6 separate regions of the Homo sapiens genome follow, and all the other regions are linked to region 1. The links are contacts of gene promoters, found by promoter capture Hi-C in blood cells and fetal thymus (Javierre and others, 2016). All regions are on one chromosome and are shown on one strand. Each heading gives the region's core, a stretch centred on a gene start or on the middle of the fragment in contact. The rest is flanking DNA. Distances are from core to core; before and after follow the strand shown.

Region 1 (3,559 bases), core at 596-3,095:
TTACTGAGGGGTCAGGAAAGATGAGAACTGTGCACAGACACTGGATTTCACAAGACAGTCATTGGCAACATCAGGACCATGCAGGGGGTAATGGGGACAAAAAGCCTCAGATGAGAGGGGGTAGGAAGAAACAGGGAAAATGAAAATGGAGACTTAGATTAAATCTTTCAAAGAGGATTTTTGTTTGTTATAAAAAGAAGCAAAGTAGGGGAGCGGGACCTAGAATGGGATGTGTGGTCTAGGGGGGATTAAAGACAGAAGATTTAACAGCAGATATTTGTTAAATGAATACATTTTAAGAATAGCATAAGGAACAAATGACTCAACACAGATGCCCATGATTCAACAGTGTAAACATGGTTTATACTTCAAGTTCCATACGGTAAGGCGTACATGTCACATTTACTTTGCTTCAAATGTAGGTGTCAATATTCTATACCTGCTTATCTATTTTCTGATTTGAATGAGATATAAAGTGGAGTTGCTTAACTCCATTTATAACCATCCTACTACTTCAAAATATTAAAATGTAAGGATTGATGGGCTGATAGGTGCAGCAAACCACCATGGCACACGTTTATCTATGTAACAAACCTGCAAGTCCTGCACATGTATCCCAGAACATAAAATTAAATTAAACAATAAAAAAATAGAAATACAGATTCTGGAAATCAAGCTTACCAAATTAAACCTTCAGAGGTGGGGGGATGCATTTTAAACAAAAGTCCCAAATGCGTCTTACCATCAGGCTTGTTTGAAAAACACTAATCTAAGGAATACTAAACACTTGGAGAAGGACAAGTTCTTCTCCTGTGTAGACGTGCAATGTGGGTTCAGGGGATGACACTTCAACTCTATATAATGGTGTATTTTTACCTCCAGATCATATAGCCTTTCCCACCCTTGCTTTTCAAAATTAAAAGGATAAATTAAAAAATAATAATAAATATGAGAATATTTTAAAATACTTTCTTTAAGAAGTTTACTACCGTGGAAAGCTGGAGAGGTCCTAATACACTGAAAACTAGCTCACAGCTGCCAGTCAAATTATTTTTATCCAAATTAGCTTTGCACAAAAAGCCAAGTAGGAAAACCCATGCCAAAACCTCCAGCACTGGCTCTGTGTGCCTGGCAGGGGCTCATGCAGAGCCTTTAGAGCATTTAAGACTCTGGGCTATTTGCTTATGGTTCTGAGGTGTCTTTTCGAAAATGGGTTTTCTAGTCAAAATGAAACAAAAAGGCAGACAGCTGTGTGGATTTTCCCTTCAGAGTAAGCCAAGTGACGGAAAGGCCTGCCCGCCCCGCTGGGGACAACAGCGCCAGCACCCGCGCCGTCGGGTCGGGTAGGCTGGGGAGGTAGCGCAGGCGGCCTGGCCCCCAGACCACCCCGCGCCCCTGGCGGCCTGGCCCCAGCCCACCCCGCGCCCCCGGCGGCGGCCCCCGCCCTAGCGCCCGGTACTTGCCTGCAGGCGAGCGCCACCACAGTCAGCCCGCGGCTTTTCTGTCTTCCTTTCTGGCCCAGCGAGAGCGCCCAGGGGGTGGGCGTCTTGCCCCGGGCGTCGAGAGTTTGGGGCCGTCCCGTACGCGGCGCGCCGCAACCCAGTCCCCGCGACCACAGCAGCCTGCTCCCCACCGCGCTTGCAGAGCCCGGACGCGCGTGAGTCGGGGGCCCGCAGAGGCCTCACCCTTGGAGGTCGCCGCTTGTCAGGCCTGACTGCTGTTGGCGCCCACCCCGCCGCCCCCGAGGGGCCGCTCGAGGCCGGACTGCTGCTTTGCCGTGGCAGGCCCCACCCGGGACGTGGCGCTGCGGGCCGGGGCGGTCCAGCTGTGAGTCAGGGGTTAATGTGGCGGGATAACTCTCTGCAGAGGGAAGGAGCTCGCAAAGAAGGGTGGAGGAGGGGAAACCGCAATGGGGAACTGTCACCGAGGCTAGTGGACTCTCCCTGCGCTTTTTTTTTTTTTTTTTTTTTTGGCATGTACCCCAAAAGCCAGAGGTCGAGGCCCAGAAAAATCTGGAAAGGAATTCCACCGTGTTTGCTCCTTACAGACCAGACAAACCGTAGATCTTTCAGAGGTACAGCGACTCTCCTGGTTCCCTAAGATAGTCTCGACTTTTCCTTTCCCTTTGCGGCCCTCTCACTTGACTACTGCAGCCAACCATACCCCTGATTAGGGGGTGCAGCACATCAGCCTCTGCCCCCAAAAACTACCCTGCGAAAGATCCTTTTTCTCAGGTTCGTTCTCCACAACCGAACAGATTGGAACTCCACTGAATAAGAGAGAACAAAAAAGCAATTAGTTAAATGAAGCGTAAAGAAGCCTTATAAAGCCCCATTGCTGCCTCAGGCACCCAATCTAGTCATAACCTAAGAGGTCCAGTTCAGAAATCTCCCCTCCCCTTTTAATTCTCAGGCAATCCCTACTCCCTGCCAAAGGAGAACCCAGTTACTGAACATCGGATGAGACCATGGATAGTAAATTGGGAGTGAAGGTCCATACCTGGGTCTCAGAAGCACAGTACAGGTAAAGCTAAGAGTTATTTCCTCCTTCTCTTTCCCCATCCAACAACAGGATGCCTTACTGAAGGTAGGCACTTCAGGTAGTAATTACTTAGTGAAATGCCGCCAATGTAGTCAGAAATACCGTATTATGTACCGTGTCAACACAATTCATTATTCACGGAGTTGATTCTCCAACCACTGCACCTCCCAACAATTCTACCTGAACTCTTTGGGTAAGCAGTGGCCTCCTAAATCCAACTGATACTTTTGTTGCCCTCATTTTTCCTGGGAGTCTCTTTGGCGATTGACAAAGTCGACCATTGTTTCCCAACACTCTGTTTCCTTGATGTTGACAACCCCACTTTGCCTTTATGCTCATCCTGCTTGTTAAAATTCTTTCAGGCCTGTTGGGAGGCCGAGGCGGGTGAATCACGAGGTCAGGAGATCGAGACCATCCTGGCTAACACGGTGAAACCCCGTCTCTACTAAAAAATACAAAAAATTAGCCGGGAGTGGTGGCAGCTGCCTGTAGTCCCAGCTACTTGGGAGGGTGAGGCAGGAGAATGGCTTGAACCCGGGAGGCGGAGCTTGCAGTGAGCCGAGATCGCGCCACTGCACTCCAGCCTGGGCCACAGAGTGAGACTCCGTCTCAAAAAAAAAAAAAAAAAAAAAAAATTCTTCTTTCAGTTTCCTCTGCCTGTTCCTCTTTCTCTGGCAACCCTTCAAAATCAGAGCTTTTCACATTTTCCCACTGAAATACCACCAATGACAGATTCCATAAACACGTACTTCCCTATTCATCACTTAGGTTGCATACATAAAAGAGCCTGAAGTCACTAGTGTCATGGGCAAATTTACTTGAACTGTTCCATCTTCTTGTAAATTGCTCCAAATTTTGCATTGTTCTTCATAATACAGTCACATGTACTAAAAAAAATCTTAAATTGGTTACAAGTTTAATTGCTTAACATTTTCTCTCCAAATGTTCAAGAAAATGCATCAATCACTTACGCCACATATGTTTAGAATATATTCTATGTGCTAGACATTAGGGATAT
Region 2 (3,323 bases), core at 615-3,114, 2.6 Mb before region 1:
TGAGCCTGGGAGGTGCAGGTTACAGTGAGCTGAGATGGCACCACTGCACTCCAGCCTGGACGGCAGAGTGAGATTCCGTCTCAAAGAGAAAAAAGTCATCTTTGCCTTCAGAGAAGCTTCTTTCCCCATGTACATATCAGGCAGAAACTTGTCGTGATTTATTAGTTATAAAAGATTCACATGAATATTTAACATTATAAAAGAAGCTATGTCATAAGGCAAATAATTGAGTAATTGCTAATGGTCCTGATAGTACATGTTTCTAGAATTTGGAAAAAAAAGTGGAAATATTTTAGGGAAAGCTATATTTTTGAGGGAATATAGGATTTTCTCAGTAGAAGTGGGGAATGTGTTTTAGGTAAAGAAAAATTGGAGATTTGAAAAAGGATAGCTCAATAAATAAATTAGTTTGAATTGAACAGCGTCCTCTCATGGGGCCATAATAGCAGATATGGTTGGAAAGTCATATGAGGTGATGATGGCATCGTATGGGTTCTTAAATCTTGAGCTAAAGCACTTTGATTTTTATTCCCCCCGCCCGCCCGACAAACCGAGACAGCCTCACTTTGTTGACCAGGCTGGAGTGTGGTGGTGTGATCTTGGCTCACTGCAGCCTCCACCTGCAGGGTTCAAGTGATTTTCATGCCTCAGCCTCCTGAGTAGCTGGGACTACAGGTGCAAGCCACCACACCTAGGTGCCTTTTTTTTTTTTTTTTTTTTTTTTTGTATTTTTAGTAGAGATGGGGTTTTGCCATGCTGGCCAGGCTGGTCTCAAACTCCTGCCGTCAAGTGATCCACCTGCCTTGGCCTACCAAAGTGCTGGGATTACAGGTATGAGCAACTGTGCCCAAACTGATTTTTATTCCATAGGTCTTTTTTTTTTCTCTCCTTTTTTGAGATAAGGTCTTGCCTTGTTGCCCAGTCTGGCTTGAATTTCTGGGCTTAAGCAGTCTTCCCGCATTTTTCCCAAGTAGCTGGGATTATAGGTGCTACCGCACCTGGCCAGGTTATTGTTTTTGACCATGACGTGTATGTTTAATGGATTTGTACCCACAAGTTCGTGTACTAGAACTAGAGTTGGAGTAGGGATAGGTGAGCTGAAATACCCTCATTCTCAGCTACCTATCACTTTCCTTTAGCCTCATGAAGTATGGAATCCTTCGGGCTCTGTAGAAAATGGATGAAACAGTGATTGTTCTGTAACAGTTAACTGTTAACCATAGCACATTTTTGAGCAACGGTAAAGAATATTACTCTGATCATTTGAAAACGGTATCCAAGGCCGGGTGCGGTGGCTCATGCCTGTAATCCCAGCACTTTGGGAGGCCAAGGGGGGCGGATCACTAAGTCAGGAGATCGAGACCATCCTGGCCAACACAGTAAAACCCCGTCTCTACTAAAAAAAAAAAAAAATACAAAAAATTAGCTGGGCGTGGTGGCGGGCGCTTGTAGTCCCAGCTACTCCGGAGGCTGAGGCAGGAGAATGGTGTGAACCCGGGAGGCAGAGCTTGCAGTGAGCCGAGTTCGCGCCACTGCACTCCAGCCTGGGTGACACAGCGAGACTGTGTCTTAATAAAAAAAAAAAAAAAAAAAAAAAATGGTATCCAAGATTTATTGGTTGGTCTGTTACATCACTTGACGTTCAGGGCAATAAATCCCTGAGCCATAGTAGTGGGACTACAAAGAAAACACTGATGGGAGACAGATTTCAAAGGAAGAAATGATCAAACCGTTTGATTAAATGTGTAGAAGTTAATGAGAAATCAGAGGGAAATAGAAATATATTGAGCACTATCTTTGTTAAAGGCCTTGGTGATAGGTTCTCTGGAGAAATCTTAGTAGCCTGGTTTTCAGGAGTTACAATCTAGTTAAGGAAACGTAACTAAGATAACCAAGTCCTCTTTTGCTTTGGTCATTTTGTATGGACTTACAGCCCTTCTAGGGCAACTTTACATACTTTAGGGTTTTGGATAACATTTTGTGTGTGTTTGCACATGAGTTTTACACTTTGCCTGCTATTACAAAACACCAACAACCTTTGTTTTAGGTATGTTTCATTTAGTTAACTAAGAATAGCTACATGGAGAAGGAATGTTTAATGTGGTACACTTCATTAAGTAACTTCATGGTTACTCTGTGCCAGGCCTTATGCAGTGAAGAGAGTAGACTCAGTATCTTCAAGAAGATGAGAAAAGACAGGAAAGGAAATGATTACAGTGCAGTGTGGTAGGATGTGATACAGAAGCACAGTGTTCAGTGGGAACAGAAGAGGGATACCCACTTACGATTTGGAGGCTGTGAGTTTGATTCCCATCTTGGCCACTCGAAAATCTTGGGTAGGTTATTTAAATCATCTTAGATGAGGATCCCAGTTTCTTCCTGACAAAGTTATTAATAGTGCCTAATTCAAAGGGTAAGTTTAAGAAACACATATATTTGTACATGTAAGTCGTTTACTTGGCACAGTGATCAATAAATGTTAATGTAATAAATGTTAACTATTACTCCAAAAAAAAAAAAAGATTTGGGAGCTAAATAGAAGCCTTCTCTGAGATAGTGATTTATGTGAGGAAAATCGGAGGAAATGAAAAAAGTTACTGTATTTTAGACTAAATGGGAAAGATAAGAGATGATGCTACAGAGTAATTCAGAGGCTAAAACATGTAGGGGTCTTGTAGGCCATATTTCTTTAAAAAACAGATTAAAAAAACTTATTTTGGGAAAAAACTTTCGGAGATGGCCAAAGAACATGACAACTGCCATCATACCCTTCATCTGTATTCATTCATTATTAACGTTTTCCTACATTTGCTTATTTCTCCGTATAGGGGTATTTTTCAAGACTGCTGTGAAATAGTGTGAACAGTGAACTGGGGGAAGGCAAGATTGGATTCTGAGAATCCAGTTAACATGCTATTTTATTAATTTACTAGAGAGAGAAAACCTGTGGTAGTAGAAATGAATAGAAGAGATCAAATTTGAGAGCTATTTAGGAGGTAAGATTGGTGATGATTTGGATATCTGAGGAGAAGTAGAAGAAAGGATGGTACCCAGGTTTCTAGTATGAGCAGTTGAGGATCCCAGTTTCTTCCTGAAAAATAAGGTTACTAATAGTGCCTAATTCAAAGGGTAAGTTTGAGAAGCACATATATTTGTACATGTAAATCGTTTACTTGGCCATCTCATTGGCAAGAAAATGAGAAATGTAGGGAATTGATGGGTTCTGTTATGGGCCAGTTGAGTTGATGGTACATGTGGGATATTGCAGTAGAGAAGACTGCATACTTTGATAAGAGCATACGTTCTCGAGCCACATCCTTTGA
Region 3 (3,289 bases), core at 238-2,737, 2.7 Mb before region 1:
GCTCACGCCTGTAATCCCAGCACTTTGGGAGGCCGAGGTGGGTGGATTGCTTAAGGTCAGGAGTTCGAGAGCACCCTGGCCAACATGGTGAAACTCTTTCTCTACCAAAAAAAATACAAAAATTGACCAGGCGTGGTGGCACATGCCTGTAATCCCAGCTACTCGGGAGGCTGAGGCAGGACAATCACTTGAACCCAGGATGCGGAGGTTGCAGTGAGCGGAGATTGTACCATGGCACTCTAGCCTGGGCAACAGACCAAGAGTCCATCTCAGAAAAAAAAAAAAGGAGGTCAGATTGAGAAATCTCCCAGAAGAAGTACAAATAAATAGATTTTTAAAAAAACCAACCCTGTCTCTACTAAAAATACAAAAATTAGCCAAGCATGGTGGTGGGCGCCTGTAATCCCTGCTACTCAGGAGGCTGAGGCAGGAGAATTGCTTGAACCTGGGGGGTGGAGGTTGCAGTGAGCCAAGATCATGCCACTGCACTCTAGCCTGGGCGACGGAGCAAGACTCCATCTCAAAAAAAGAAAAAAAAAAAAAAAGGCTAAGACCAAAGACAAAAAGAATTATATATCCATAATTAACCAGAACTAAAACTCAAGATACTACCATTTATGATGGTGGTTGGAGTGATGGAGCTTCCTATATTTAATTTCCTATATCTAAATTTCTTTAGATAAAATTGTTTAAAAGAGTAGCCAGGTGCAGTGGTGTGCGCCTATGGTCCCAGCTACTCGGGAGGCTGAGGCAAGTGGCTTGCTTGAGCATTTTTTTGTTTTTGTTTTTTTTGAGACAGAGTCTCGCTCTGTTGCCCAGGCCTGTCTTCTTGTTTATAATCTGAGACAGAGCCACAGATGCACAACATTCAAGCATTTATTCCTACTTCTTCTATACAGGTACTGAGATGGAGTTTTAGTGGTAGCAAGACCAACATACCTTCAGCATGTAGTAGAAGGGGAACCATGACAGGAAGATATCAGAGAAGAATTCAGCAATGCTGAACACACCATACACTACCCAGTAGGTCAGCCACTGGGTATCATCTTCTTTGTTGGGACTCTCTATAGCTTTAATTCTGAAAGGCAGTACAAAAGAAAGTATATCATTTGGTAAGATATCAATGAAAGATTTTCAAATACACTTTCATAACCTGTCCTCTGATACCACTGAGAAACTTAGGCACATGTAGGCACTGTGTCACTAGATGCAAGAGTACAGCTTAAAGACTGGAAGCAATGTGGATATCGGGACAAGCCATTATAACCACTTGTTTCTAGTCTCCTGGTCACCAGAGAAACCAGCACCAGCTGTTACTGCCCTGGATCTCCACCCTGCCAAAGCCTCCCCACAAGTCCTAGAATATACCACTAGTGACTGGGAGCTAGAGCAATTTCCACTCCCAAGCTGGGTCCTGCCACGAGGGATATATCAGGAAGAATTCTCTCGTGATAACCAGGTTCTTATGTACTTTTAATAATTGAGATATATCATGGGTGAATAAGAATTTCCCATAAAGCAACATTTGGAACATAGGTTAGGTACTGCCCAAAATCCACAGCATATTTTATAGTAAACGGGTGAAAACAAACCTCATGGTGTCTATTTAGTTCAGAATGTCTTTAACTGATCCACAGGCTATGGACTTTCCTCCTCTCCTCAGTTAATAACAGGACTTTCCCAACCCTAACTATTGCTTAAACAAAATTCATTCTGCAAATGGATGGAAATACATTTAAAATAATTTTCTAAATCACAGAAATTTCCTTCAGTCCTAGGAATCTCATTATTCTAAACCTGAAGCTCCACAATTTCTTATCCTAACAGATCTAGATATTTATCGTAACTGAGCTGGACTGAAACAGTAAAATAAAAGAACTCTGAATCTTGTTTAGCCTATGAAACAGGTTAACTACTGAAAATACATTGACAGGGAGCTAAGCTATGAGGATGCAAAGGCATAAGATACAATGGACTATGGGGACTTTGGGGAAAGGGCTGGGGGTAGTGAGGGATAAAAGACTACACATTGGGTACAGTGTACCCTGCTCAGTTGATGGGTGCACCGAAATCTCAGAAATTGCCACTAAAAACTTATCCATGTAACCAAACGCCACCTGTTACCCAAAAACCTATTGAAATAAAAAATTTTCAAAAAGCAAATACATTGGCTACTCCATAACATCAGCTCCCCAAAGAGACAGTCAGGCTGCTAAATCATGCTCAGTCACTCACTAAGAAAGCCCTTGTACAGTTAATTAGAAGCAGCTATGTGTGTGAGTTTTAGAAAATAACCAAAAGGGGAAAAATTGTAGCTCAATGAGATGATTACTAATGAGGAAGACAGAGAGAGGAACAAGTAATAAGGTGAATGTTGCTTTGAACTTCAAGACTAGGCAAAATTTTTATTTTTTTGAGACAGGGTCTCTGCACAGGCTGGAGTGCAGTTGCACAATAATAGCTCACTGCAACCTCAAACTTCTGGGCTTATGTAATTCCCTTCACTTCAGCCTCCCAAGTAGCTGGTACTACAGGTACACACCACCACACCTAGCTACTTGCTAAATTTTTAGTAGAGACAAGGTCTCACTGTGTTGCCCAGGCTGGTCTCGAACTCCTGGCCTCAAGCAATCCTCCTGCCTTGGCCTCCCAAAGTGCAGTCTGGTGGCTCCCACACCCAGCCCCAAATATTTCAAAGTACAAGAATCATATAAAATGAATTTAAGAGAGCTGATTATTAAAAAATGGCTTGTAATGTATGCACAAAGTCTGTATTTTTTTAGCTTCCTTCAGATAGAAGCTGGCGAATGTAATAGAAGGCCAAAGGAAAAGTGTAGACAAGCATGTTAACCAAAGAACACAGTATATCCTTTATGTGTAAGATTTCTTCTCCCGCTGTGTTTCATTTGGTATAGTATGGCTTATCCATATTTAATTGGATTTATTTAATTATTAGTATAATAAAAATTTGTTTCCTGTACATTCATTCTGGGCAGAGGAGATACGTAATTACATTTCACTCAAGGTCTTAGTTTTGTGAACGCAATAGCTCACAACTATGTACTTCCAAAAGAAGCAACTCTCAGGACACACCTGGGAATTAAACAGTCTTTTCTAGAATATGACGTAAAAACCTCAAAATGTGATGGGACTGTCATTGTTAATCCAGTGGCTTTTAAATTCTTTTGGCCACAACCCTCGGTAAGCATACATTTTACATCATGATCCAGTAAACAGACATCTTCACATAAAAATATAAACTTAAATAGATATTTCCTGAAACCATTCT
Region 4 (3,671 bases), core at 1,147-3,646, 2.6 Mb before region 1:
TAGTGCGCAGTTCCATGGGGGAAATGGAACAGAAACTGTGGGTACTTTCTCTGTTTCTTGTTTGTATCATTGCAGTAAACGCTACTCTCATTTTTGGCTCGTTGGTCTAATTGGCTACTCTGATACCTGTTAGCTCAGCTAGTGCTCTCTGTCTCTCTCCCAGCCCGTTTCCTGACAATTCTGGGTCCATTTTCCTACAGATCTTTCAGCTTTGCCCCATTCCACACATTAGCTTCAACCTCAAAGTGATAGTGAGTAGTAGTATATCAGTCACTGAGTACTGGCTGTAGAAGTTCCAGACATCATATCCTGACCTGATGACATCCAATGAAAGAAGAGAGACTTTTTCATCACGAAGTTTTAAGCAAGAGTTCTATGGTATACACTGACTGGACTATGTAGGTATGTACCTGTCCAGAGAATGGGTACATTTCCAGGGAATGGAGTGTGGTGTTTGATTTACCAACCAGATTTTGGCCTTTGAGCCAAAAGTGTTTCTGGCTTCCCCAGAGTCACATGTGCTGTGTGAGGGAAGCTAAGGGATACATGTCTTAATCAGGGTTCTGTTAGGAAAGAGTAAGGGGTGAATTCAGGGCCTGCTATTAATACATAATTTGCAGAGCCTGTTCCTCTCATGAAAATATAGAGCTCCTTATTCAAAAGGCAGGAAAAAAGTGTCACTAAAGGTGCTAGAAAGCCAGGCGAGGTGGCATACACTTATAGTATCAGTTACGCAGGAGGATTGCTGAGCCCAGGAGTTTAAGTCTGGCCTGGGCAACAAACTGAGACCTCATCTCTTAACTACAACAACAACAAAAATACTAGAATATAAAGGCTTTTTCTTTCTTTCACAGTTTCTCTCTTCACTTATGGTGTTTTTGATATTTAATGTCATTCTAAATAAAGATTAAAATTAAAATTAAGTAAAATTAAATTCATTCTAAGTAAAATTAAAATCATTACAAAGACTTTTTACCATCTTTATATTATGCAATGCTGGCTTTTTTTTTTTTTTTTCTTTTTTATTTTTTTTTTTGAGATGGAGTCTCGCTATGTCGCCAGGCTGAAGTGCAGAGATGCTATCTCAGCTCACTGCAATCTTTCCTCCCGGATTCAAGTGATTCTCCTGCCTCAGCCTCCCGAGTAGCTGAGATTACAGGCATGCACCACCACACCCAGCTAATTTTTGTATTTTTAGTAGAGACAGGGTTTCACCATATTGGCCAGGATGGTCTCGATTTCCTGACCTCATGATCTGCCCACCTCAGCCTCCCAAAGTGCTGGGATTACAGGTGTGAGCCACTGCGCCCAACCACAATTTTGGTTTTAAATGCAAATATAAGAACATTTAACTTGTACGTGGAATCACTGAAATTACATAATTCTTATTTCATACTTTGTACATGTATGATATATTTCATTGTTACCAGAACAGTCAAAATGCTGTACGAAAGTCAACTGTTTTTACGTCACTTCTTGATATGCACATACATATTCTACCACACTCTCTACCTTCTTATTGATGAGGAAAAAACTAAAAAGAAAAGGAAAAGATGGGTTGCTCGATCTTCCCCTTTCCTTCTATGTCATCATTTTCAGCATAAGGGGTTGGCTAAATCAGGAAAGCAATAGGAAAGGATATGATAGAGTTTCTTGGTTCTTTGTGTTTTTAGACTGCCATTGTCTTCTTGCATTAGAACAAGTTCTGATACACAGGAAGCTTGACCTCCTAGGGCTGACAGCGACCCCACCTACTCAGTTCCTATGTGCCTATGTTGTTCTTACTCTGAATCTTGCTGAACTTTCATGCATTGTGAGTTCAGTGAAATTCTATTTAAATAGGACAATGCAAATGCTATATGCAAATGGCATGGCAAAGAGTGAGTGGACATGCATATTGCACGTCTCGGCTCTGCTCATGCTCTATTGTCCCTCCAATTTTACTTACAAAACACAAGTTCAAAAACAAAATTGAGAATTTCAAGATGGTAACAGCAGAGCATTAAACCAAACATGGGGCCTTTCTGAGTGTAGGGTTCTGTGCAACTATACGGTTTATACATACACACACATGCAGCTGGCCCTGGGTAAATGAGTGCTGGGCATGCAAACAAGAATGACCACTACAACCTGCATTTACTGATTATGGAAAAGGGTTTGTGTGTAAAGAGAAAAAAAACCCAACAACAAAAAAACAAGATACTTTATGCAGCAAAAGTTTATTTTTTGCTCATGCAGAATCTGGAGCAAATGCTCCAGGGTAGCTCTCCTCCAAGCAGTACACTCAAGGGTCTGTGCTTTTTCCAGTGTGACTCCACTATCTAAAGAGTTCTTTGCTTTCAGCTGGGAAGAGAAAAGGGAGAAATAAAAATTATGTGAAAATTACATAGAGCATTTCAGGAGCTGTGCTTTGAAGTTGGGTATATCACGTTTATCTTCATTCCACTGGCCAGAACTCAATTGCGTTTTTCCATCTAAATGCAAGGAGGCCTGTGAATCCAGGAAGAGGAAACGGGATTGGTGAGTGACATGGTTTGGCTGTGTCCCCACCCAAATCTCATCTTGAATTGTAGCTTCCATAATTCCCATGTGTCATGGGAGGCACCTGGTGGGAGGTAATTGAATAATGGGGGTGGGTCTTTCCTGTGCTGTTCTCATGACAGTGAATAAATCTCACAAGACCTGATGGTTTTATATAGGGGAGTTCCCCTGCACATGCTCGTTTTGCCTGCTGCCATGTAAAATATGACTTTGCTCTTCCTTTGCCTTCTGCCATGATGTGAGGCCTCCCCAGCCATGTGGAACTGAGTCAATTAAACCTCTTTCCTTTATAAATTACCCAGTCTCGGGTATGTCTTTATTAGGAGTGTGAGAACGGACTAATACAGTCAGCATCTAGTAAGACTGCCATAGAGATCAAGGGAGATTTTTGTTTCTTGGTAGATGTTACTAAAACATATTATATGCTGTGGGAGATATTATACTAGAAAGAGTGTGGGACTAACAGAAGGGGCAATTATGTATTACTCTATAAACATTGAGTTGAACCATAAGAACTTTGTAGGGATGTGAAGAAGCTTTGACAGACTTAATTTAACCTCACTCTATTTAATTATTTATTTATTTTTATTTTTATTTTTTTTGAGTCAGAGTCTCGCTCTGTCGCCCAGGCTGGAATGCAGTGGTGTGATCTCTGCTCACTGCAAGCTCCGCCTCCTGGGTTCACGCCATTCTCCTGCCTCAGCCTCCCAAGTACCTGGGACCAAAGGCGTCTGCCACCACACCTGGCTAAGTTTTTGTATTTTCAGTAGAGACAGGGTTTCACCGTGTTAGCCAAGATGGTCTCGATCTCCCGACCTCATGATCCACCCGCCCTGGCCTCCCAAAGTGCTGGGATTACAGGCGACCTCACTCAATTTAAAAGGCCAATAAGCAAGTTAAATATTTTTTAGGATTCAGTGACAGCTTATTTTGTTGTGAGATTATTATATTTGAATATTATAGTATAATATGCTGTACAGGCATAAACAATAGTTTTTGTGTCATTCTCCCTAAGGCAGAATTCCTGCTATGAGTTTAGAACTGAATGCTAGTCCTGACTCAATTATATACTGTTGCTTAATCATTAATCTTTGAGTCATTTAATCTTTATAAGCCTCATTAATCTTTGT
Region 5 (3,759 bases), core at 380-2,879, 2.1 Mb before region 1:
CTAAACACTTTGGGCAGACTGAAATTGTGGATCTTCTAGAATCTTACAGGTAAAACTTTGTACTATTTTAAATTAATTCTACCGTCTCTTAAAAAAGAGCTTCACCATATAAATTATGGGCTATTCAAATGTAGACCATTTATAGTCTTTTATCCAGAGATTTTTTTTTGTGATTCTAAGGAAATTTTCTGTCTGATCTACCATGGTATAATATTTGTCTTATTTTAAGAAATCAGTAGAGGGATTTCCAATTAAACATGGTAGGTACAACATAAGTATCTCTGCATTTTCTCAAACCTTTTACATTTCTCAAAACCTCACTAAAATGACAATGAAGCAATATAAAGAAATTTAAAAGGTGTAAACCAAAGTCAAAGAGAATGGAAGAGGACAGGGCAACTGATAGAAGATGTTAATTTTGGGATGATAGATAGCTGATTGATTGACTTAGCAGAACTAAGAAAACTCACAGTGCCAATGAGAAACACTCATTTTAGCTTTGAAACTCCTTAGAGGCTTGTTCAGTGGCCTTTGAGTGAAGCAGTAAAAAAAGAGTTAGTTATCAAAGAGAAAACTTAGAATACAAAACTATAATAAAAGATATTGCATTCATGCAATAAAAAGTGTGCTATCAAAAAGGAACAGAACACAAATCTTTGTTCAGATTTTGTCTTCATGAGGCCTACCCAAATTTGCCGTATCTGATATTACAATCTACCCCCCACGCAATGTCCATCCTCTTTAACCTGTTCTACGTATTCTTTTTTTCTCCAGAAGCCCTACCACCCTCTGATACACTATGTAATATACTTGTTCACTGTTCTATTGATTTATTGTCTATCTCTTCTCCCTACCAGAATGTAGTAAGCTTATTGTCTGCTTGTTCAAGAACAGCAACTAGATGTAGTAGATGTGCAGTGAGTGTTTGTTGAATGAATGAATAAATAAATAATTCTTGTAAATTAAAAATATGATAGCAGAAAAAAAGAAGAGTTACAAGATAAAGTTTAGAAAATTGCTTTCAGAGCAGGAAAATTGTAGAAAAAACATAAGAAAATTTGCTTCCTATGTACTCCTTTATTAGGAAACTGTTGGAGAATGTGCTTCACAAAAAAGAAGTAAAAAGAAAAACAAAAATTGGGGGAGAAAAAAAAAACGGGTAAAACCGGGCAGGTACAGCACAGGGGATAGGTGAAAGGAATGCTCAGGATGCTGGTACAGAGGATTGTTTTGATGACACCTGTGTCTAGTAGGCCTGATCGCATAGGAACAGAAGATGTGGGGCTCTAGAGGGAGGTCTCTGTGGGGGAAAAATTTACCTGGCATTGTCAATCATATTAAAAAGCTTTATGAATCTGTTAGATAATTTGGGAAGAATTACTATCAGATCACAGAAAACTAAGCAAATAAAAATTAGACAGTTGTTACTCTAGGAAAAACAAAAAGTTACACAAGAAAGGAGGTATAATCATAGTATATTATTAGGCTAAGCAGTAAATGTTTACCAGTCATAGTAAAGTAAAGGCTGAATGAAGATTTAACAAAAATTGTAGGAACTGGTGTGGGTGGAAAGTGTAGGGAAGTGGAAGTGGTAACCTCATTTTTCATTAGTTGGAGGTTCGCAGATAATGACTACGTTGTTAAAACAATAAATAGCAGAAAATGAATGTTGCTTAGAAATATGACAGCAAATACTAAAAAGGAATGGCTAAAACAATAGAATAGTCCTAAGCAGTGTGACTAGGAGTTTTTGTTATAACTTCTATAAAACCATTTACCACCACTATGTATATGTATTGCTTTGATTTAGCAAAAAAAGAAAAATCACAAGGGAATCCTGTAAAACCAATCGAATTAATTGTCTTTTAGATAGAAATTTTAGATAAATTTACATTAGATATTTAAATAAATTATGAAGCTTTCAGATTAGATATTTAAAGAAAATTTTGAATATATGTTTTATAATACATTGAAAGCTTCTGTTTTCAACCTTTAGAGACTCAAAAAAGAAAACAATGGAGCCTGAAGTTAAAATATATTAAAATATCTGTTATTCAAGAGCATATAAAATGTTTTATTTGACCTGGGTTTTTGTACTTAATTTTATAGATGTAAAATTGGAAATGTAGTCTCAGACATTTGAAATTAGTTGTGACATTGAGTCTCAAAATTCTTGGTAGGTTTAAATGCTATTTCTGATATGGTAGGTTTAGTTGTCATTTCAATAGTAGCACCCAGAACTTGCAGTCCTTTTATTGTTAACACTTTGAATGTTCCAGACATTCTTATGGTGTTAAGTAAAGCTCACTAGATACTGCAGGTTACCAGGTAAAGCGTTTATCTGGATAATATTTTAATTATCCTGGCTAACTGGGCTTTCTTTTTATTTGATAGATCATATTATCAATTATAAATTTCAGGTATTTAAAATTGAATATATTATTATGTTTACTGGATTATTGATAATTTATATCCAAAAGTTATAGCTTTAAACAGAATATAATGTCTTCTTCATTTATGTGTTAAAAATTAAAAAACAATAAACTTACAGTGTTTTAAAGTAGATCTTAAAATTTATAAGAGCTGAGAACACATGGACACAGGGAGGGGAACATCACACACCAGGGCCTCTTGAGGGGTTCCGGGATAGGGGAGGGATAGCATTAGGAGAAATACCTAATGTAAATGAAGGGTTGATGGGTGCAGCAAACTACCATGGCACGTGTATACCTATGTAACAAACCTGCATGTTGTGCACATGTATCCCAGAACTTAAAGTATAATAAAACATTTACAAGAGCCAATTATTAAGTTGTAGAAGTTTAATATTTTTCCCATTGAAAATAGTCTTACGTTATTTTTCTGCTAAATTCTTTAAGAGAGATTGGATTTATTTGAACTTCCTAGAAATTCTGTTGATAATTGCTAGTGATAGCAGTAGTTTACATTTTTACATATAAGATGAAGAAGCAAGGCATTTATTTCAGTAATTTATGTTGATTCTTGCTTTTGGAAAATAGCATAATCAACTTGCTTTTAGTATAGAATTTTCTAATTAACAGTCATGTTAAGTTGGTACCTACTGAGTTTTTTAAAAATGTGAACTATACATCAGAATATTGTTTATAGTAGTAAACAATTAGATACAACCTATTAAGAAAATATAAATGATAGCTGAAAGTTTGTGGTTTTTAACAGTTTTATTGAGATATAATTAATATACCATATAATTCACCCATTTAGGTGACCAATTCAATGGTTTTTCATATGTTCACAGACTTATGCAATCATCACCACAATCAATTTTAGAACAGTTTCATCACCACAAAAAGAAACTTGTACCCATTAGGTGTCTCTCCCTATTCCGCCCCAACTCTCCTAGGCCTCCTCCAGCTTTAGACCAACCACTAATCTACTTCCAGTTTCTATAGATTTGTCTATTTTGGACATTTTATATAAATGAAATCATGTGATATGTGGTTTTTGTGATTGGCTTTTTTCAGTTAGCATAAAATATCCATGTTGTAGCACTATTTTTATGACTAATACATATTCTATGGATATACCAAGGTTTGTTTGTATATTTGTCAATTGATGAACACTTAGGTTGTTTCCACTTTCTGACTATGAATAATACTGGTATGAATATTTGTGTACAGATTTTTATGTGGATATATTTTTTTCATTTCTCTTATATATACACCTAGGAGTGGAATTGCTGGGGCATATGGTAACTCTATGTTTAACCTTTTGAAGAAC
Region 6 (3,703 bases), core at 274-2,773, 2.0 Mb before region 1:
ATCAGAAATTATTTAGCCTATTGATGTGGTATATAGATTTTCTTATGGAACTGCTATTTTGTTCTGAGAATAAACCTTCCTTGGACTAAGTGTGATTTATTACATTGCTGGATATTTTTCTAACATTTTATTTAAAACTTATATTTATCTTCATTGGGGAGGCTGACCTGTAGGGTTTGTGTGGTGTGTGCTTGTACATATTCCGGTATGTAGGTTTTAGGTGTTAATCAGGTTTTGGGTTAGGTTTAGATTTGTCTCATTACAGGAATGGTCATTATTTGATTCCATGCAAAATTGAGAGACTTGGTATTCTGGATTTCTTTGTTGATGTTCTTTAAGGATATCTCTGATTTCTTCCTTAAATATATTTGTGTTCTTCTAGTTCCTCTACTTTCAGTTTTAGTAATTTTCGTGTAGAAAATAATTAATTTCTTTGAAGATTTCAAATTTATTATTTATACATACTGTATGTTTTAGCCTATATCAATTTCATATTTTATAATGCATTCTGTATTTTTATAATCTCATTTTCACCTAATTTTGTAGATAGATTTTTGCTTTCTTCTTCCTTTATTAAATTTACAGAGGGTTATCTATTAATATTTTCAAAGAACTGGGTTATAGTTTTAATTACCATTTTGTCTTTCTAATTCATCTTTTTATAATTTTCTATTTTCTTCTACTTTTCTTTGGGTTTTATGTTATTTTTCTTAGATATATTTAGCTGTATACTTTTTCTTTTTAAAACTGACCTGTGACTTTATAAGAGTATTGCTTTGGGCACCTTTCATAGTTTTTGATATGTAGTATAGTCATTCCTTCCTTGAATTATGTTATTTGTTTCTTTTTCATCCAGTTATTAAAGATTGTGCTTCAAATTTTATATTCTTGTCTTTTTTATTTTGTTGCATTGTGATGAGACATTATAGTCTTCAAATGGTCCCTTTTTTTTCCTTTTAAATAAATACTGAGATTTAACATGTGATCTTTTGAGTTTGAAGGACTTCCCACACAAATTGTTGTATGTCAGGAGGGTTTGTGTATATGAAGCGTATTTATTCTTCTTAGTTTTTTGCCATAACGTAAGAAGGTAAAAGTGATTTTTTTTTCATTATGTACTTGGACAGTGGATGGCATTCCCAATGACAGTAGTGATAGTGAAATGGAGGACAAAACTACAGCTAATTTGGCAGCCTTGAAACTTGATGAGTGGCTCCATTTCACACTGGAGCCAGAGGTAAGTTGCTTTCAAGTAGTGTAATAAATTTCTTTCATTCAGTTAGTGTGAATTGATATATAATATGATAAAATTTTTTTCTTTACTATTGAGCCCTTAGTATCAGAGAATATAACTTGTTTTTCAGTTTTCTTGGGGACCTCATTCATTCTCTTCTGTATTGGGGTTTATTCCAACAGAGGACTTGGAAAACCTAGTTGTGGCTCATTATTTAAGCAAGGTAATTGTCTTAGTTTGTTGTTGCTGCTATAGTAATTTATAAAGAACAGAAATTTATTTCTCACAGTTCTGAAGGATCTTAAGTCTGAGATCAAGGTGCTGACGTCGGTTGAGGGCTGCTGGACCCTGCCTCCTATAGAGTGGAGGAATACTGTGTCCTCATATGGCAAAAGGCAGTAGGGCAAGAGGGCATGAACTCCCTCCATCAAGCTCTTTTATAAGGATACCTAATCCCATTCATGAAGCCAGAGCCCTCATGACTCAATCACCCCTCAAAGGCCAACACCTCCCATTACTATTGCATTGGAGGTTAAGTTTCAACATGAAGTTTTGGAGGGGACAAAAACTTCAAACTGTAGCAGTAATCCTTGAGTATTTCTGGATATATAAGAAAGTATTGAGTATTGGGTACACAAGAACTCCCTTTATTTTGTGTAACTGTGTTTTCTGAGAGAAAGATATGATTCCATACTATTTTCTCTTTGCATATACTTCTGAATTGGGGGTTTGAGGGAGGATGAATGTTTCTTTTCAAATTACAAATTTTCATGACAAAGCCTCCCCTTGATTCTATCTCTACTGTCCAAGATCATTCTCTATACATTTTTGGGAGGCGTCAAGCTGTCAATAGTTAACACTGGCTAGGTTTACTATTTTAGCATCCATTCATTCATCACTTCAACCTACTACACTCTCACTTCCATTCCCACCAATTCATCACTTCACTGAAACTGTACTTGCCAAGGTCAACTGTGTCCTTCATGTTGTCAAAGTCAGTCTGCTGTCTGGGATAAATGTGACCTCTATTATTTATCACTATTGTCCATATCCTCCTTTTTGTACTCCTGCCCTTCCCCAGTTTTCTTCCTTACTCCTGCCCCAAATTCTTTGTCACTAGTTACTGTAACATTAATCTTTCTTAATTCTTTCTCTGTAGTCAGTCCTTCTTAGTTGTTTCACAGACCCTGCTGTGTGTGTTTGTGCCTTAAATTTTAAGTTCTCTAGCACTTTGTGTCTTACTCTTATCTTCTTACTCCCTCTATACATTCCCTGGGGACTTTATCTCTATGTGTATATTTTGCAATCATTTAGGAACTGGTGACTTTCAAGTTTAGAGCTCTGTCTTAGACCTTTCTGTGAATCCAGCTGCCTTCAGGACATGATCATTTGGATGTTCTACAGGCACTAAAATAACACTATGAGCTACATATATTTTTATTTACCCTGCTGCTACTTTTCCAGTATTAATCACACTCTGCCACAACTATTGTTTACTGTCTTTCTTATTAGACTATTTAATTTGATTTTGTGTCTTAGTGCCTAAAATATTATAAATAAATTTTATTTCATTCATGCATTAAAAATAATGAAATTAGTAGTAAATTATATGAAATGTGAAATAAGTTTGTTGGAAACAGTTGCAAACTAATGGAAACTAATCAACACATAGGTGTTTTGCATATGTGATATTCATTTGCTTGTATCTATTTGAACTATTACAGGCAGCTAGTTTATTGCTGCAGCTCAGACAGAAGTGGCATAGCTTATTTTTACGCCGAATGAGAGCTCCATCTAAACCTTGGTCTCAAGTTGATGAAGCTACCATAAGAGCAATTATAGCTGTTTTAAGCACTGAAGAACAGTCTGCAGGTTTACAACAACCATCTGGGATTGGCCAAAGGCCAAGGCCTATGTCTTCAGAAGAGCTTCCTTTGGCCTCATCTTGGAGGTCAAATAATAGTAGGAAAAGTTCAGCAGATACTGAATTTTCTGATGAGTGTACTACTGCAGAAAGGTAAATTTATGACATTTTACCAAAATGGGTCACTTTTTATTCAGGAAAATGAATTATTTATCTTAGAATCATGTGCTTTTATAATATTTAAAAATTACTTTTTTATAATCTAAGATCCATGAAAAGATAGCAATAAAGTGGAAAGAGTTTTCTACTTGTTCAACTTAATTCTTCTAAGTATTAAGGTAATATGAATTTTAAACTATTGATATCTGTGAGTTATTTAATAAGGCAACTCTTTGTCAGGAAAAGGTCAAAATATCTAATTTCTAGAATTGGGTCTCTCAAAAATATATAGACATTTTAAAATTATGTATTTTACTTGATATATGTGAAGTAACATTTTACCTAGATACCCTGGGCCATACTGGCTATGGCCATTTAAAAGAACAACCTCCTTATAAGCCTTATCTAGATATCAATACTGCTGATTAGCATTCCTATAGAAAAGT

The links. The method cuts DNA at HindIII sites, captures the fragments that hold promoters and counts their contacts. A CHiCAGO score of 5 or more calls a contact.
Region 2: a fragment that was not itself captured here is called in contact with the fragment with the promoter of TICAM2 in region 1 in 6 of 17 cell types (total CD4 T cells, activated CD4 T cells, naive B cells and 3 more); the score reaches 11.5 in total CD4 T cells.
Region 3: a contact is called between a fragment that was not itself captured here and the fragment with the promoter of TICAM2 in region 1, in 1 of 17 cell types (M2 macrophages). The highest score is 5.9, in M2 macrophages.
Region 4: a contact is called between a fragment that was not itself captured here and the fragment with the promoter of TICAM2 in region 1, in 6 of 17 cell types (activated CD4 T cells, M0 macrophages, total CD4 T cells and 3 more). The highest score is 10.1, in activated CD4 T cells.
Region 5: a fragment that was not itself captured here is called in contact with the fragment with the promoter of TICAM2 in region 1 in 1 of 17 cell types (activated CD4 T cells); the score reaches 7.7 in activated CD4 T cells.
Region 6: a fragment that was not itself captured here is called in contact with the fragment with the promoter of TICAM2 in region 1 in 2 of 17 cell types (total CD8 T cells and total CD4 T cells); the score reaches 9.7 in total CD8 T cells.

What each region holds. Positions count from the first base shown.
Region 1 is chr5:115,600,634-115,604,192 of GRCh38, forward strand. TICAM2 (TIR domain containing adaptor molecule 2) reads right to left here and starts at 1,846. Exons shown (of 2, transcript NM_021649.7): 1 at 1,464-1,846. The region is part of intron 3 of TMED7-TICAM2 (TMED7-TICAM2 readthrough); the gene reads right to left. It overlaps TICAM2-AS1 (TICAM2 antisense RNA 1), which reads left to right and starts at 1,522. Exons shown (of 3, transcript NR_109875.1): 1 at 1,522-1,827; 2 at 2,413-2,523. RefSeq lists enhancers at 1,168-1,247, 1,196-1,718 and a silencer at 1,338-1,837. The HindIII fragment of the contact is 4,479 bases long and covers 675-3,559 here.
Region 2 is chr5:112,986,921-112,990,243 of GRCh38, forward strand. The region is part of intron 2 of DCP2 (decapping mRNA 2); the gene reads left to right. Among named protein-coding and RNA genes, the nearest start is that of DCP2, 12 kb to the left of the region's middle. The HindIII fragment of the contact is 3,500 bases long and covers 115-3,323 here.
Region 3 is chr5:112,901,441-112,904,729 of GRCh38, forward strand. REEP5 (receptor accessory protein 5) reads right to left here. Exons shown (of 5, transcript NM_005669.5): 3 at 940-1,078. Among named protein-coding and RNA genes, the nearest start is that of REEP5, 19 kb to the right of the region's middle. The HindIII fragment of the contact is 4,622 bases long and covers 1-3,289 here.
Region 4 is chr5:112,969,611-112,973,281 of GRCh38, forward strand. It overlaps LOC105379126 (a long non-coding RNA gene), which reads right to left. Exons shown (of 2, transcript XR_948679.3): 2 at 2,201-2,343. Among named protein-coding and RNA genes, the nearest start is that of DCP2, 5.4 kb to the right of the region's middle. RefSeq lists an enhancer at 125-204. The HindIII fragment of the contact is 1,357 bases long and covers 1,719-3,075 here.
Region 5 is chr5:113,548,972-113,552,730 of GRCh38, forward strand. It overlaps YTHDC2 (YTH N6-methyladenosine RNA binding protein C2), which reads left to right. Exons shown (of 30, transcript NM_022828.5): 12 at 1-49. Among named protein-coding and RNA genes, the nearest start is that of YTHDC2, 37 kb to the left of the region's middle. The HindIII fragment of the contact is 573 bases long and covers 1,344-1,916 here.
Region 6 is chr5:113,578,459-113,582,161 of GRCh38, forward strand. YTHDC2 (YTH N6-methyladenosine RNA binding protein C2) reads left to right here. Exons shown (of 30, transcript NM_022828.5): 24 at 1,128-1,237; 25 at 2,959-3,251. Among named protein-coding and RNA genes, the nearest start is that of YTHDC2, 67 kb to the left of the region's middle. The HindIII fragment of the contact is 5,766 bases long and covers 1-3,703 here.